Regions from separate parts of the Homo sapiens genome. Here regions 1, 2, 3 and 4 are each linked to region 5. The links are contacts of gene promoters, found by promoter capture Hi-C in blood cells and fetal thymus (Javierre and others, 2016). All regions are on one chromosome and are shown on one strand. Each heading gives the region's core, a stretch centred on a gene start or on the middle of the fragment in contact. The rest is flanking DNA. Distances are from core to core; before and after follow the strand shown. Region 1 overlaps LOC105370461 (a long non-coding RNA gene). Region 2 overlaps LOC105370461 (a long non-coding RNA gene). Region 3 has its middle 580 kb from the start of FBXO33. Region 4 overlaps LOC105370461 (a long non-coding RNA gene). Region 5 holds the start of LRFN5 (leucine rich repeat and fibronectin type III domain containing 5).

Region 1 (2,700 bases), core at 72-2,571, 1.9 Mb before region 5:
TCAGGGAATCTGTTCCATGGTGTTTACTCAGTGTTTCTAAATAGATTTTACCATAGAACTCTTTTTGTCCCCCTCCGCCCATAAAACATGTATTCCCTCCATTTTGGGAAACTCCATTTCAGGCTGATTTCTCACTCTCCTGATTCTCAAATCCCTTGTGCCTTTATTCCTGGTGCCCTCAGCCATGGTCCAGTAGCATCCATTTCCCTATCCCAGCTTTTCCTTAATCCTACCTGGTTACCATATTCCAATGTATTCTGCTTACTTGCTTTTCCCTGCCACCATTCGTTGTGTCTCATCTTTGTTTATGTCTCTTCTGGCCTCCAGGTTTATTGGTAACATTAAATATTTTCATTTTTATGGTCATTCTCTAATATTTGTTATTTTCTGGGTTATATTAATGTCTCAAAACTCTCTTTCTTTATGCCCCAGGGGAGATATTGTCTATAGAAAATTAGAGATGCTTAGCATTAAATTTAGTTTTAGTTCCTTCTCCATCTCCCAATCAGGCACCCTCTCTACATTAGCCTTACCTGAAAATTTGAGTGCCAGGGAGTTCATCAGCTTAGAGAGAAGCCCCCTTCATTTTTTATAGCTCCAGTTTTTAGGAATTTTTTTTGTTTGTTTTTAAGAGACAGGGTCTTGCTATGTTGCCCAGGTTGGTCTTGAATTCCTGGGCTCAAGGGATTCTCCCACCTCAGCTTCCCAAAATACTGGGATTACAGGTGTGAGCCATAGTGCACAGGCTTCTTTGTTGTATTGAAACCAAACATGCCTATCATTGGTGAACTTACTTTAGTCCTTTTGCGTTAAGTTTTTGTCATGTCTTTCCTATACCTTTTCTTTTTCAGAACAACTCTGTATATGCTATTGTTTTATGACATTTCAATTTTTTTTACTCATTTTAAACTAGTGTATACAATGAGAAAGCTCTTTTATTAGTTAACAGATGTTAGCAAAACTCATCCTCACAACTTAAAACTTCTTTCTGCCAAAAGAGCATTAAATTTGGTTTGGATTGCAACTGGTGATACCACCATCTATATGGCTAGCAGAAATACTTTAGTGTCCTTGCAAGGCAGTGAGTTGAAGGAGCAGGAGGGAAAGATGGCAGAGGCTGGATCAGGAAATAGAAGTCAGCCACTCATTGTAACTCTTGGAAAATTCTGAATTGGGTAAAGCTTGTTTTGACACTCTTACTTGCTCTTTCTAGACTTCTTTTCCCAATGCATGGATTCCCTTCCTGTTTTTTTCCACTTAATGTGCACAGAATATCTTGCTTTTTTCCTCAGTTAAAACTTGCTTTCAGGAAAGATTTGGTTTCAGCTGCTTGTATCTTTGTTGAGAATATAACATACTGTCATTCTCAAGTGTATGTACACTTTAAGCACAGTATTGGTTAGTTACCCATGTCACTACCTATGGGTTGAAAGGCATTGCTCTCTTGTGTGGAAGGAATTTTAAGCTTCAAAAACTATGTGAGAGTGATTTTGGAGGGCTGGAAAAGGGATTTATATTGGTTTTCCTAAAAATATACAAATATTTCAGCTGCCTGTTTTCTTGCATTTAAGTCTTGCCTGCAAATTTCCCTAAATATTCTGTTCCCTAAATAAATTCTGTAATGCATCCTAAGTATTCTCCCAGGCAGTGTTTCTCAAACTTATCAATGAACTTCTGGTATCAAAGGAGAGTGAATGCATAGAGCCCTGGGAACTGAGGGTGTGGCTTTACAGAACAGTGCTCAGAATGAACCTGATTCCTTTGTGAAATTGTTTCCTCTTCTTGCAGACTAAAAATCAATTTAATCCAAAAGATAGATGAAAATGGAGAATTATTGTGAAAGTCTTAACCATATAGGGCAGTAATGAAGGCATAGCATTAATCTAGAGAATAACTAATCCCTTTTGATGAATGGCATGTAAATAAATGCATTCCAAACAGATGTTTTTAGGTATCACATGCCCACCTTTTATTGTTTCGGGGTCACTTCAATACTGAGACATTTTATAAATGAAGCTCTCCTATACAATATAGACTCTCACACAGAGAGAGAGAGTAACTCGAAATTCATCACCGAATTCAACCCAAGAGAATATCCTTCTTAACTTGGGATTCTGTGAATACACAACTTAATATTTCATTTTGATATACAGTCAAGGATCCTGAAAAGAGATGAATATAATTTATACAAAGTCACCTTCATGCAAATGGCAATTTTGGATGAAAGTGGGAACGCCCATTTCCTAATCATAGTTTCTTCATTTTTTCCTGGTAGTCCTTGGAGTTCTGACACAAGATGCTAATGGTAAAAATTAATATTGGGTGATAATAAATATATCCTTGTGATTTGTCACTTCCCTTTTCTGCTTTTTGAGATTTTTATGATTGTGACCACTACAAAACTGTCCCTAAGGTTATTTCAGTCTATATTATCTATGCATGTAGGTTGGTACAGTACTATATAATTTTACTGCACCTTTTCAACTGATGACAATTATTATTTAAGACTTTAACTTTATTAAAGTACATCTTAATATGATTAAGACACCATTGTTGAAGACCTGAGCACTTTCAAACTTTTCAATACGTATATATTAAGAGTCTACGCTGGACAGCATACAGTACCTAAAGACAAAATGCTTAAAATGAAAGTTTAAAAAAAATACAGTTTAAAATTCATGTGATAAAAATGTGTGACTC
Region 2 (2,700 bases), core at 18-2,517, 2.0 Mb before region 5:
TGGTGGTATATCATGATAATTCCTTCTCTAGTACCACATCTCATAGGAGTATAAAATCCTGAGAGTCCAATCTCTGTGACATTGCTCATGTCCATTCCCTCTGCTCTTCCTCCATTACCAGTGTTTATATCCTCATTTCCTACCTGGACCATTGCAGTTGTCTTCTAAATCATCTTGCTGCCTTTAGTCTTGACTGCCTTGAATCTATTTTCCATATTGCTGCCAAAGTGATCTTTCTATACTCAAATATGCTCTTTTCTCTGTGTTTAGAATCCTGCAATGCTTTCCAATGGCAATAACATTAATCTAGACACTTTTTGCATGGTATAGAAAACTCCCATGATTTGGCTCCTGTTTGACAAGTTTTTGATATCTCTATTTATCTTGAAAGTAAACATGAGGTTTCTGGGGCAGAGATGAAAGTTATTAACCCTGCATGCTGGGGGATGGGAGAGTCTGCACTGCAGAAAAAGGAATCCTGAAATTGCGAATCTGGGATCGTATATAGGTTACAGACTGCCCACTCTGACTTCTTCTTCTTCTTTTTTTTTTTTGTTAGCTCCCACTTATAAGTGAGAACACGTAGTGCTTGATTTTCTGTTCCTGTGAGGATAATGGCTTATGGCCCCATCCATGTCCTGCCAAGGACATGACCTTGTTCCTTTTTTATGGCTGCATAATATTCCATGGTGTATATGTGCCACATTTTCTTTATCCAATCTATCATTGATGGACATTTGGGTTGATTCCATGTCTTTTCTATTGTGAATAGTGCTGCAATAAACATACGCATGCATTTATTTTTATAATAGAATGATTCATATTCCTTTGGGTATATACCCAGTAATGGGATTGCTGGGTCAAATTGTATTTCTGGTTCTAGATCCCCGAGGAATCATCACACTGTCTTCCACAATGATTGAACTAATTTACATTCCCACCAACAGTGTAAAAGTGTTCCTATTTCTCCACAGCATCACCAGTACTGTTGTTTCTTGACTTTTTAATAATCAGCATTGTGACTTGCATGAGATGGTATCTCATTGTGGTTTTTCATTTCTCTAATGATTAGTGATATTGAGCTTTTGTTCATGTTTGTTGGCCGCATAAATGTCTTCTTTTGAGAAGTGTCTGTTCATGTCTTTTGCCCACTTTTTGGTGGGGTCATTTGTTTTTTTTCTTGTAAATTTGTTTAAGTTCCTTGTAGATTCTGGATATTAGACCCTTGTCAGATGGATAGATTGCAAAAATTTTCTCCCATTCTGTAGGTTGTCTGTTTACTCTGATGGTAGTTTCCTTTGCTCTGCAGAAGCTCTTTAATTAGATACCATTTGTCAATTTTGGCTTTGGTTGCAATTGCTTTTGATGTTTTTGTCATGAAATCATTGCCTGTTCCTATGTCCTGAATGGTATTGCCTAGATTTTCTTGTAGGGTTTTTATAATTTTGGGTTTTACATTTAAGTCTTTAATCCATCTTGAGTTAATTCTTGTATAAGGTGTAAAGAAGGGATCCAGTTTCAATTTTCTGTATATGGCTAGCCAGTTTTCCCAGCACCATTTGTTAAACAGGGAATCCTTTCTGTGTTGCTTGTTTTTCTCAGGTTTGTCGAAGATCAGATGGTTGTAGATGTGTGGTCTTATTTCTGAGATTTCTATTCTGTTCTGTTGGTCTATGTGTCTGTTTTGGTACCAGTACCATGCTGTTTTGGTTACTGTAGTCTTGTTGTGAAGTTTGAAGTTAGGTAGCATGATGCCTCCTTTGTCTTTTTGCTTAAGATTGTCTTGGCTATGTGGGCTCTTTTTTGGTTCCATATGAATTTTAAAGTAGTTTTTTCTTATTCTGTGAAGAAGGTCAATGGTAGTTTAAAGGGAATAGCTTTGAATCTATAAATTACTTTGGGTAGTATTTCACGATATTGATTCTTCCTGTCTATGAGCATGGAATATTTTCATTTGTTTGTGTCCTCTCTTATTTTCTTGAGCAGTGTTTTGTAGTTCTCCTTGAAGAGGTCCTTCACATCCCTTGTTAGCTGTATTCCTAGGTATTTTATTCTCTTTGCAGCAATTGTGGAGGTTCATTCATGATTTGGCTCTCTGCTTATCTATTGTTGGCTTATAGGAATGCTTGTGATTTTTGCACGTTGATTTTGTATCCTGAGACTTTACTGAAGTTGTTTATCAGCTTAAGGAGATTTTGGGCTGAAATGATTGCATTTTCTAGATATAGGATCACATTGTCTGTAAACAGATACAGTTTGACTTCCTCTTTTCCTATTTGAATACACTTTATTTCTTTCTCTTGCCTGATTGTCCTGGTCAGAACTTCTAATACTATGTTGAATAGGAGTGATGAGAGAGGGCATCCTTGTCTCCTTGTCTTGTGTCAGTTTTCAAGGGGAATGCTTTCAGCTTTTGCCCATTTAGTATGATGTTGGCTGCGGGTTTGTCATAAATGGCTCTTATTATTTTGAGATATGTTCCATTAATACCTAATTTATTGAGAGTTTTTAAGATGAAGGGATGTTGAATTTTATTGAAGGTCTTTTCTGCATCTATTGAGATAATCATGTTGTTTTTGTTTTTACTTCTGTTTATGTGATGAATTACATTTATTGATTTGTGTATGTTCAACCCGCCTTGCATCCCACGGATGAAGCCGACTTGATTGTGGTGGATAAACTTTTTGATGTGCTGCATTT
Region 3 (2,700 bases), core at 123-2,622, 1.6 Mb before region 5:
AAGCCTTAAAAGCAAAATATGTTCTGCATAAAGGTGGAAGAATAATGATTTGGAATCTGTGTAGTGCAGAAATAGGATAATGTTGAACCTGCTCCTCTCCTAGGCCTGTGGTACTTTGGGTGCTGGAATTAGGCAGTCACTACCAAAGATTGCTGCAAAAGAAGCAGTGATATTGGGTGAATAAATATTTTGGTATAGAAATGCAAACAATAGGTGGTTCATCTCAAACAAAACCCATAGATCACCTGTCCAACTTTGTTAGCTTGCTAGGAAGTTAGTTATAATTACAAATACAGTCTAAGACATATTTTCTAGTTATTAACATATTCCATACAATCTTGATAGCATTATTCCAAAAACCAAGATCATATCATTAATTTAAACCTATTCCATGCAGTGACTATTGAGAAAAAGTAAATAGTATCTTCTCTTAATGGATAGATATGTTCTTTTGTACCATAGATTATCTTTACAATAGTAACCTGGCACTAATTGAACTTTCAAAATTGAACTGCTGCTGATAAATCTCTTAAAAAGTCTTTTTTATATGTAGTAAAATGTTTAAGAAACACTAAAAAAGTTAGAACAAAAAGATAAAATGAGAAACAGAATATGAAATAAATTAGTATAAGACCTTGGTATTATACCAAGGTTAGGAAGACAGTTCAGTAGAATTCAAATTATTATTTTATTGCTGTTCTTCACTTTGGGAAAGGTGTATGTATATGTAAGAAGTTGCTTATATAGTGCCAAACAAATGTCTTCAAATTTAAGAACAATGCCCATGAAAGGAAAATCAACCTAACAAGAAAGAAATATTAATATTTATAACGCAAGAAACCTTAAAAGGGGTTATGACCTTGTATAAGAGTATATATATAGGTAGATAGATACATATATTATAAATATATTGACATATGAACATACTTAACTACAACGTAGCTGATATTCTAAAAATAAAATATTGAATTGTGATTTTATGTATGTTTCTTTTTAGTAAACAAAGGGGATTAAGGGAAATATAAAAATGCAATGGAAAAAATATATTTGCCTGTGATAGTACTAAAATTTGTTACTTGATATTTCAATTAAACTTAAAAAGACAAAACAAGGAAGCAACAAAGAGATTTGCAGCACAGCAAAAATGGCCATCAAGAGATCACATTTGTCTTCTCTTCAACTGGCTTGGTCTGACGGTACTTCAAAATTGTACTGGGGATTCTGGAACCATTTTTTATAAAGGTGAAAGTTGGGTAACTTGACATCCAAAAGGAAGTTAATATAATAATTGGTTTTACATGTGAATATATCCTCAGTTTCATCATATTTACTAAAGGAGAGAGAAAAACTTGACTTATAAATGTGGCTCCCCTTATTTAAAATTACTTAGCCTATGGAATAAATAAATTGTAGTGGACAGAATCTAAGGTTGCCCTCTTGGTCCCTGACTCCTGGTGTTCCTGTCCTTACATAACTCTCTCCCCTAGAGCATGGGTGGGAAATATGACTTACTTCTAAGCTCTAGCGTATGCAAAGGGGATGAGATATATGTGATTACGTATACATGGTTACACGATTGTGTAACATAAGATGAAGTGCCGTCTTGCTGGAGTCTCTCACCCTCTTGTTGACTATGAAGATGGAAGTTGCCATGTGATGGTCTGCCTATGTTGGGAGACCCGCAGAGGAAAGAACTGAGAGAGCCTACAAGCTGATGGTGGCCTCTGTCCAACAGTCAGCAAGAAACAAAGCCCTCAGTCCTGCAGCTGCCATCTTCGACTCTGCGTTCCATTTAACATGAGTGGAACTGATATTTTTATAAAATAAGAACTGAAATACATGTTTCTGTGTAAATCTCCTCTTATAAATAAAATGAAGTAGTGGAAGGATATTCGAAGGTAGTGGTGCAAAAAAGTGGTGCCAATATGAAAGGACAAATTGTAAGGGAACAGAAATCTCTTTCAGTGGATAAAAGAATAATACAATTATAAATGTGATCAATTAACAGATTAAGCTGATAATGGAATAATATGCAAGAGGGTACTAATAGTAAAATTAGGATTGTACCCCATCATTACATGGACCCAAACTAACTCTATCAATGTGCTTCAGGATGAGAATTCTGCCATCTTCCGTCTGCCTTGCTTATTTAGGAACCAATTTAACTCAGTCTAGTGTTAGGCATTGGAGATTGAGGTTTGGAAATAAGTTGTTGGTGTTCTATAGCCAAGGGCTAAATCTTTTGAAATTTTTTGGATGCCAGCAATGCTATTGCATGGTTGGCTCTTTAAATACTACCTGTGGAGGCCAGTTTGCTTGACTTTATTGGGCCTGGGTCTGTGGAGTAACTGGGGCTTCATAACTCTATTCTGTGTCTCTAACACCTGCTTTTGAAGAGTGCAGAAAAGTGTAGATCTCCCTGTTCTAAACTTCAGTTGGAAAACCAGTGTGCCTGTTTACTTTTCTCTTTATTTTAACCCTTGCTAAGGGTTCCATGGCTGCTGGTCACCCTGATTGATGCCATCCTATAATTGGAATGACTTTTTAATACCTATATAGAATTGGTTTCTAGTACCCCTCCACCACCCTAGTTCTTCCTCAGTTTTATAGTAGCTTCTCCCCAGAAGTCTGCTTTCTCTGTCTTAGATCATGTTCCTTTTTCTTCCATATATCTTGTAGCCAGTGCTGTGTGGTATGTTC
Region 4 (2,700 bases), core at 44-2,543, 1.9 Mb before region 5:
CTCCTGGTGCGCTGTATTTTAAGCCTGTCAGAAAAGCGCAGTATTAGGGTGGGAGTGACCCGATTTTCCAGGTGCCGTCTGTCACCCCTTTCTTTGACTAGGAAAGGGAACTCCCTGACCCCTTGCGCTTCCCGAGTGAGGCAATGCCTCGCCCTGCTTCAGCTCATGCATGGTGCGCTCTACCCACTGTCCTGTGTCCACTGTCTGGCACTCCCTAGTGAGATGAACCCCGTACCTTAGATGGAAATGCAGAAATCACCTATCTTCTGCGTCGCTCACGTAGGGAGCTGTAGACCGGAGCTGTTCCTATTCGGCCATCTTGGCTGTTTCCCTCCATTTTGTTCTTTTTTATGGCTGAGTAGCATTCCAAAGTGGGGAGATATATATATATATATGTGTGTGTGTGTGTATATATATAATATCACATTTATATATCATATATCACATTTTCTTTTTGATATAATGACTTCTTTTTTCCATTGTGTAGATATCCAGTAGTGAGATTGCTGGCTTGAATGGTACATCTACTTTTAATTTTTTGAGAAATCTCTGTTCTGTTTTCCATACAAGTTGTACTAATTTACATTCCAACCAGCAGTGTACAGGCATTCCCTTTTCACCACAGCCATGCCAACATCTATTGCTTATTTGACTTTTTTATAATGGCCATTCTGGCTGGAGTAAGGTGGTATCTTATTGTGGTTTTAATTTGTATTTCTCTGATGATTGGTGATGTTGAACATTTTGTTCATGTGTCTGTTGCCCGTTTATATATCTTCTTTTGAGAAATGTCTATTCATGTCATTAGCCCACTTTTTGATGAGATTATTTATTTTTTTTCTTGCTGCTTTGTATTAGTTCCTTTAAATTATTGATGTTAGTCCTTTGTCGGATGCATAATATGCAAATATTTTCTCCCATTCTGTTTACTCTGATGATTATTTCTTTTTCTGTGCAGAAGCTTTTTAGTTTAGGTAGGTCCCATTTATTTATTTTTGTTTTGGTTGCATTTGCTTTTGGGGTCTGAGTCATAAATTCTTTGCCTAGGCCATTGAAGTGCACTACTTTCTATACAGGCATTCTGCTATTGTCCAGCAATGACCACTTCAGAATTATTTTGAACTTTTAAAGGTTTGCCTCTGTTAGCCAACTCTCTCCAAAATCTTTAAAAGCACAACTGAGAAAGTAAATTTAAAATTTTATGAATAATTGGCTAATCTTAAAAAGCATAACATTAGAATTTATTTTACTTTGCGTTTGAGATTTTGAATTTGATCTATTTTTGGTTAATAGGACAATATTGTTCATGTAGCAAATTTAGGTGGCTAACATGCTGTCATTTCTATATTCTCTAGGTGGCAGCTTAGCTCTACCTTTTAAGCATCTCCCTTTAGTGTTTTTCTCACTGGCATTTCATTTAAAAACTGCTAACATAATGCACAACAACATGTAAAATGAATACAGCCAAACGTTATCTGCCTGCCTTTAATGTCTTGACAAGGTTTTTCATGTAGCTTTGCCACACTGCTGATTTTAATGGAGGGATTCAGAGATAGCAGCACTGAAAAAGTACTCTTATTTACCATTTTTCTCATATGAAGGTCAATAACTGGGTCTTTTATGATTAAGCTTCAGTTATAAAGCATCCACATTGTTCTAGAGTTTGTACTTTTTCTGCACGTAGTGTTGAGCCAATTGTCTTGCTATTTAGTCACATTTGAGATGTGTTTATTTCCTTCTCTCCATTACAGTTTCATGAACAGCTGGGTTTGAATGTCACGATATCCTCATTCTGTTCAGTTAGAGTGCAAATACCTTCCTGAAAATTATGAAAATATAGCTTAACTCTAGAATAAGAAATTACACTGTCTCGTAGAGGAAAATCTCAACTGGGAGTGATGTTTGCTCCTCAGGGAATATTTGGCAATGTCTAAAGATGTTTTTGATTGTTGAACTAGTGGGAGGGAAGTGCTGCTACTAGTATCTCAGTGAATAGCAGCCAGGGATGCTGATAAACATCCTAAAATGCAGAGGATGGTCCCCTACAACAAAGACTTAATCTAGCCCAAAACATTAATAGTGCAGAGGTTGAGAAATCCTGTTGTAGAGAACAGAGCCATAGTGGTAGTAATATTAAAATCAGTACAAGTTTTAATAATCAACACAATAACTCCATATAAGTAGTTTACTGAAGTTCATAAACATTATAAACATCCTTTAGAAAAATATCTTTTTTGATTAATTTGATAATAAGCTTTTCATGAAACTATTCTTGTTCCCTGTCGTCCTACCCATTTTCCTCAAATGGTTAAAAATAAACTGTGCCCTTGTATTTCATTTTCTTAATTAAAAATATTGCTCAGCTATTATTTTGCATATCTAAAACTCAGGAAATCTCTTTATGAGAAAACTGTGTTTACTGAGTACAGAGAGTTAGTTTGCACATCTGTCAAGATCTATATGCAATTTTCTTTCCTTTCTATTTTGTAAGTCAATTTTATTAAAATGGGTTTGAGATGTCTCAAGTTTATCAAACCTATTGACTGTGGAATATATTAATTAAAACTATTGAAAATCGAGGTCTGAGTATACTGAAGTTCCCAAAGAATTTAGTGTAAAGGAAGCTACTTAATTTGTCATTGCCAAGATGCTGCGAAATAATGACAAACTTGTTTAGCATCCTGAAACTGCTACTGGTAC
Region 5 (2,700 bases), core at 190-2,689:
CTGCGCTCCTCTGGAACAAAGCAGCCAGACGTGGCTTGAGTGGATTCCTAAGCCAAGGATTGGATCCGGAGTACCAGGGGCAGAGAGGGGGAGCAGAGGAAAGAAAGGAGATGTGAGGAGTTTCCACCTAAAGCACTTCACTCCTCGTGTTCTTCCCCGACAGAGATAGCTGTGTGGTTCTTCCTTACGCGTGGGTGCAGGTGTGCGCGCTTGGGGTGAGCCCATGGTTGTGCTCGAGTATACGGGCGCCTGTGCACCTCCAGGGCAATGGTAAAGCCTGGCAGAGCTCTTTTTGGAACAAAATGAAGGAGCTCCATATCCACGGAGGCCACCCGTATGGGCCTTTGCCAAGTAGGGCAGAAGAAGCCCTTGTTAGCCAGCTTCCCTTTGCAACTTCCTACTCTTCCTTTGGGTACAGACTGGTGTCTGGGCTAGCTAGGATCACAGCTGAGAGCGAAGGTGCTCTCAGTGTCCGAAGACCACGTGCTGGTGAACCCACAATGAGAAGCGAAAGGGTTTCAGGACTCTAGCAGAAAGGAAGAGCAAGATTTCACTCAGGGTTTCTTAGAAGAAAGAGTTAACTTTGCTCACTGGCTTTTCCAGGATGGAGGGAGTGGGGATAGGGTCGGGGAGAGAAGCATTGGGAGTCTTGTCGGAGTCTCAAGCAAAACCAGGCGAGGGCTCCGGGCAGATCCATTCCCGCAGGGCCCTGTCTAACCTCCTTTCCAGTCGCACCTCTTTCCTGCTTTAGACCCTGCGTCTGTGCCGGTGACCTTAGAGACTAGGTCTGGCTTATGAAGACTGTTGGGCTCCCTTTCTGCCCTTCACATAGTAAAATGTGACCAACTGCAGTATTCGTAATGTCTGATGCTGAGCTGAGTTGATTCCCAAATATAAATGTTCTTTTCAGAATCCGCTCCCATCTGATTAGTAAGCAAATCACCACCCACAACTAAGGGGACAGCGGAAGCCAGCCTCAGATGACTGAAACCCCCAAGTCAGTAGCTCTCCTCAAAATTTCCGGCGGGTTATTATAGATAATGACTTTTCCCACCGCCCTAAGCAGCCGAAGCTTGACTCAGTGATGATTCTCTCTATCCCGTAACTGCGAGGAAGTGGGCGATCAGCAAATTGCCCTTTTGCAGGAGGCTGGGGACGCCCCTGGAAGTTCGCTTTCATTCTCCAGGTTTTCTGCCTTTTCCCTTCCCCCTTCCTGCAACGCCCCCGCGCCTCCTCAGCCTGGGGATTTCCTGGCGCTTCGCCGGCCCTCTCCGCAACCCCCTGATAAATCGGTTCAGAACCAGTCTGGCTGGGAGGCCCGAGGGCTGACAGCAGCGGAGCGGCCCCGGCCGGGGTCTCACGGACTCTCGGGGTCTGGCCGACACGGCCGCTCCCGTCACTGCAGCGCGGGCTGAGCTCACGGCCGCGCGCCCGCCGCCGCCGCCGCCGCCGCCTTCATGCTGCAGCGCAGGGCTCAGTTCCACGCGGCCAGGAGGCCGCCGTTGCCCACACGCGACGCTTTGGGAAGCCCAGCTCCCGGGTCCGCCCCGGCCGCGGCCGCAGCCCCGGACCTCGGCTGCTTGCCTCGCGCCTGAACTGCGGACTCGCCCCAGCGCGGTGGCCAGCGGGCGGGGCGCTGTGTTCCGCGGCGCGCAGGGAGGCGGTGAGCGTGTGCAGAGCTGCCCGAACGGAGGACTATGTATGTGTGTGCGCGTGTTTGCGTGTGTTTGAGCGTGTTTTTCCTTCTTCCCTTGAGGATGTGAATTGTTTAGCAGCTGGCTGCTCCCTTAGGATCCTTGACTTTGGGGAGCTCTGGCTGTGAACACAGCCCACCCATATAATCCATTTTGCACGGTCCGTTATATCAGAAAAAAAAAGCGCAACTGGACGGGGGTGGGGCAGACCAACGAAACCTAGACAGACACACACACACTCAGAGGAGAGAGGAAGAATTGAAAGACTTGAGAAGACTTTGATAACCTCCCTGCTGGCCCTTCTGTGTTCCGGAAAGATCCTGGATGTTGGCTACCTTTTCAAGTCATCTTGGCATGTCTCTAGTGTTTTGTAAGCCGCTTTCCAGCTAGCTGCGTGTGTGTGTGCGCGCGCGTGTGTACGCGCGCGCCTATCTGATGCATTTGACTGTCTTTTATCCAACTGCCCAGAAGCAAATGTGTTAACTCGGCGATGCCCCTTCATGCCCGGGTTCTTGCAGAGCTCTGAGGACGCCCAGACCCATTTTCCTGGCTGGATTTGGAGCGGCTGCTGGGCTGTGGACCCAGGTGTGTGGATCGCTTTACCCAGAAGCTTGGAAAGCGCCAATATTAACCTGCTTCCAGGTACATCACAAGGTCAAGAGAGTGTCTTGCAGCCCTCTTGTTTCCGTGTATCTACACCTTCTTCTCTTGGCCAGAAGGATATTTACGTTTTGGTTCACAGCATTTGAAGCCAAAAGTTCAGCCCTTCGAACTGGTTTGCTATACAAAACAAAACAAAACAAATAAGGTAATGAGGATTGCTTATTAAACTGCTTAACAAAATCCCCGACTCTTCCTCAGCCCTTTCTCGGCTCCCTCCTCCCCACCAAAATGTCACCAGCTCTTGAATTACGTGGATTCGGGTTGGAGGAGAACTTGAAGGAAACGTGATTAAAGGGCTATGCGAGAACGCTCTCTTTGCTGCCCGCGGTCCGGTGGGCTTCGA

The links. The method cuts DNA at HindIII sites, captures the fragments that hold promoters and counts their contacts. A CHiCAGO score of 5 or more calls a contact.
Region 1: a fragment that was not itself captured here is called in contact with the fragment with the promoter of LRFN5 in region 5 in 1 of 17 cell types (naive CD8 T cells); the score reaches 7.5 in naive CD8 T cells.
Region 2: a fragment that was not itself captured here is called in contact with the fragment with the promoter of LRFN5 in region 5 in 1 of 17 cell types (endothelial precursors); the score reaches 5.4 in endothelial precursors.
Region 3: a contact is called between a fragment that was not itself captured here and the fragment with the promoter of LRFN5 in region 5, in 1 of 17 cell types (total B cells). The highest score is 6.0, in total B cells.
Region 4: a contact is called between a fragment that was not itself captured here and the fragment with the promoter of LRFN5 in region 5, in 1 of 17 cell types (naive CD8 T cells). The highest score is 6.0, in naive CD8 T cells.

The regions. Positions count from the first base shown.
Region 1 is chr14:39,669,492-39,672,191 of GRCh38, forward strand. All of the region lies in intron 4 of LOC105370461 (a long non-coding RNA gene), which reads left to right. Among named protein-coding and RNA genes, the nearest start is that of FBXO33, 240 kb to the left of the region's middle. The HindIII fragment of the contact is 284 bases long and covers 1,180-1,463 here.
Region 2 is chr14:39,622,171-39,624,870 of GRCh38, forward strand. All of the region lies in intron 2 of LOC105370461 (a long non-coding RNA gene), which reads left to right. Among named protein-coding and RNA genes, the nearest start is that of FBXO33, 190 kb to the left of the region's middle. The HindIII fragment of the contact is 5,395 bases long and covers 1-2,700 here.
Region 3 is chr14:40,013,199-40,015,898 of GRCh38, forward strand. No RefSeq gene overlaps it. Among named protein-coding and RNA genes, the nearest start is that of FBXO33, 580 kb to the left of the region's middle. The HindIII fragment of the contact is 4,586 bases long and covers 1-2,700 here.
Region 4 is chr14:39,703,409-39,706,108 of GRCh38, forward strand. The region is part of intron 4 of LOC105370461 (a long non-coding RNA gene); the gene reads left to right. Among named protein-coding and RNA genes, the nearest start is that of FBXO33, 270 kb to the left of the region's middle. The HindIII fragment of the contact is 668 bases long and covers 960-1,627 here.
Region 5 is chr14:41,605,437-41,608,136 of GRCh38, forward strand. It overlaps LRFN5 (leucine rich repeat and fibronectin type III domain containing 5), which reads left to right and starts at 1,440. Exons shown (of 6, transcript NM_152447.5): 1 at 1,440-2,700. The HindIII fragment of the contact is 1,232 bases long and covers 1,071-2,302 here.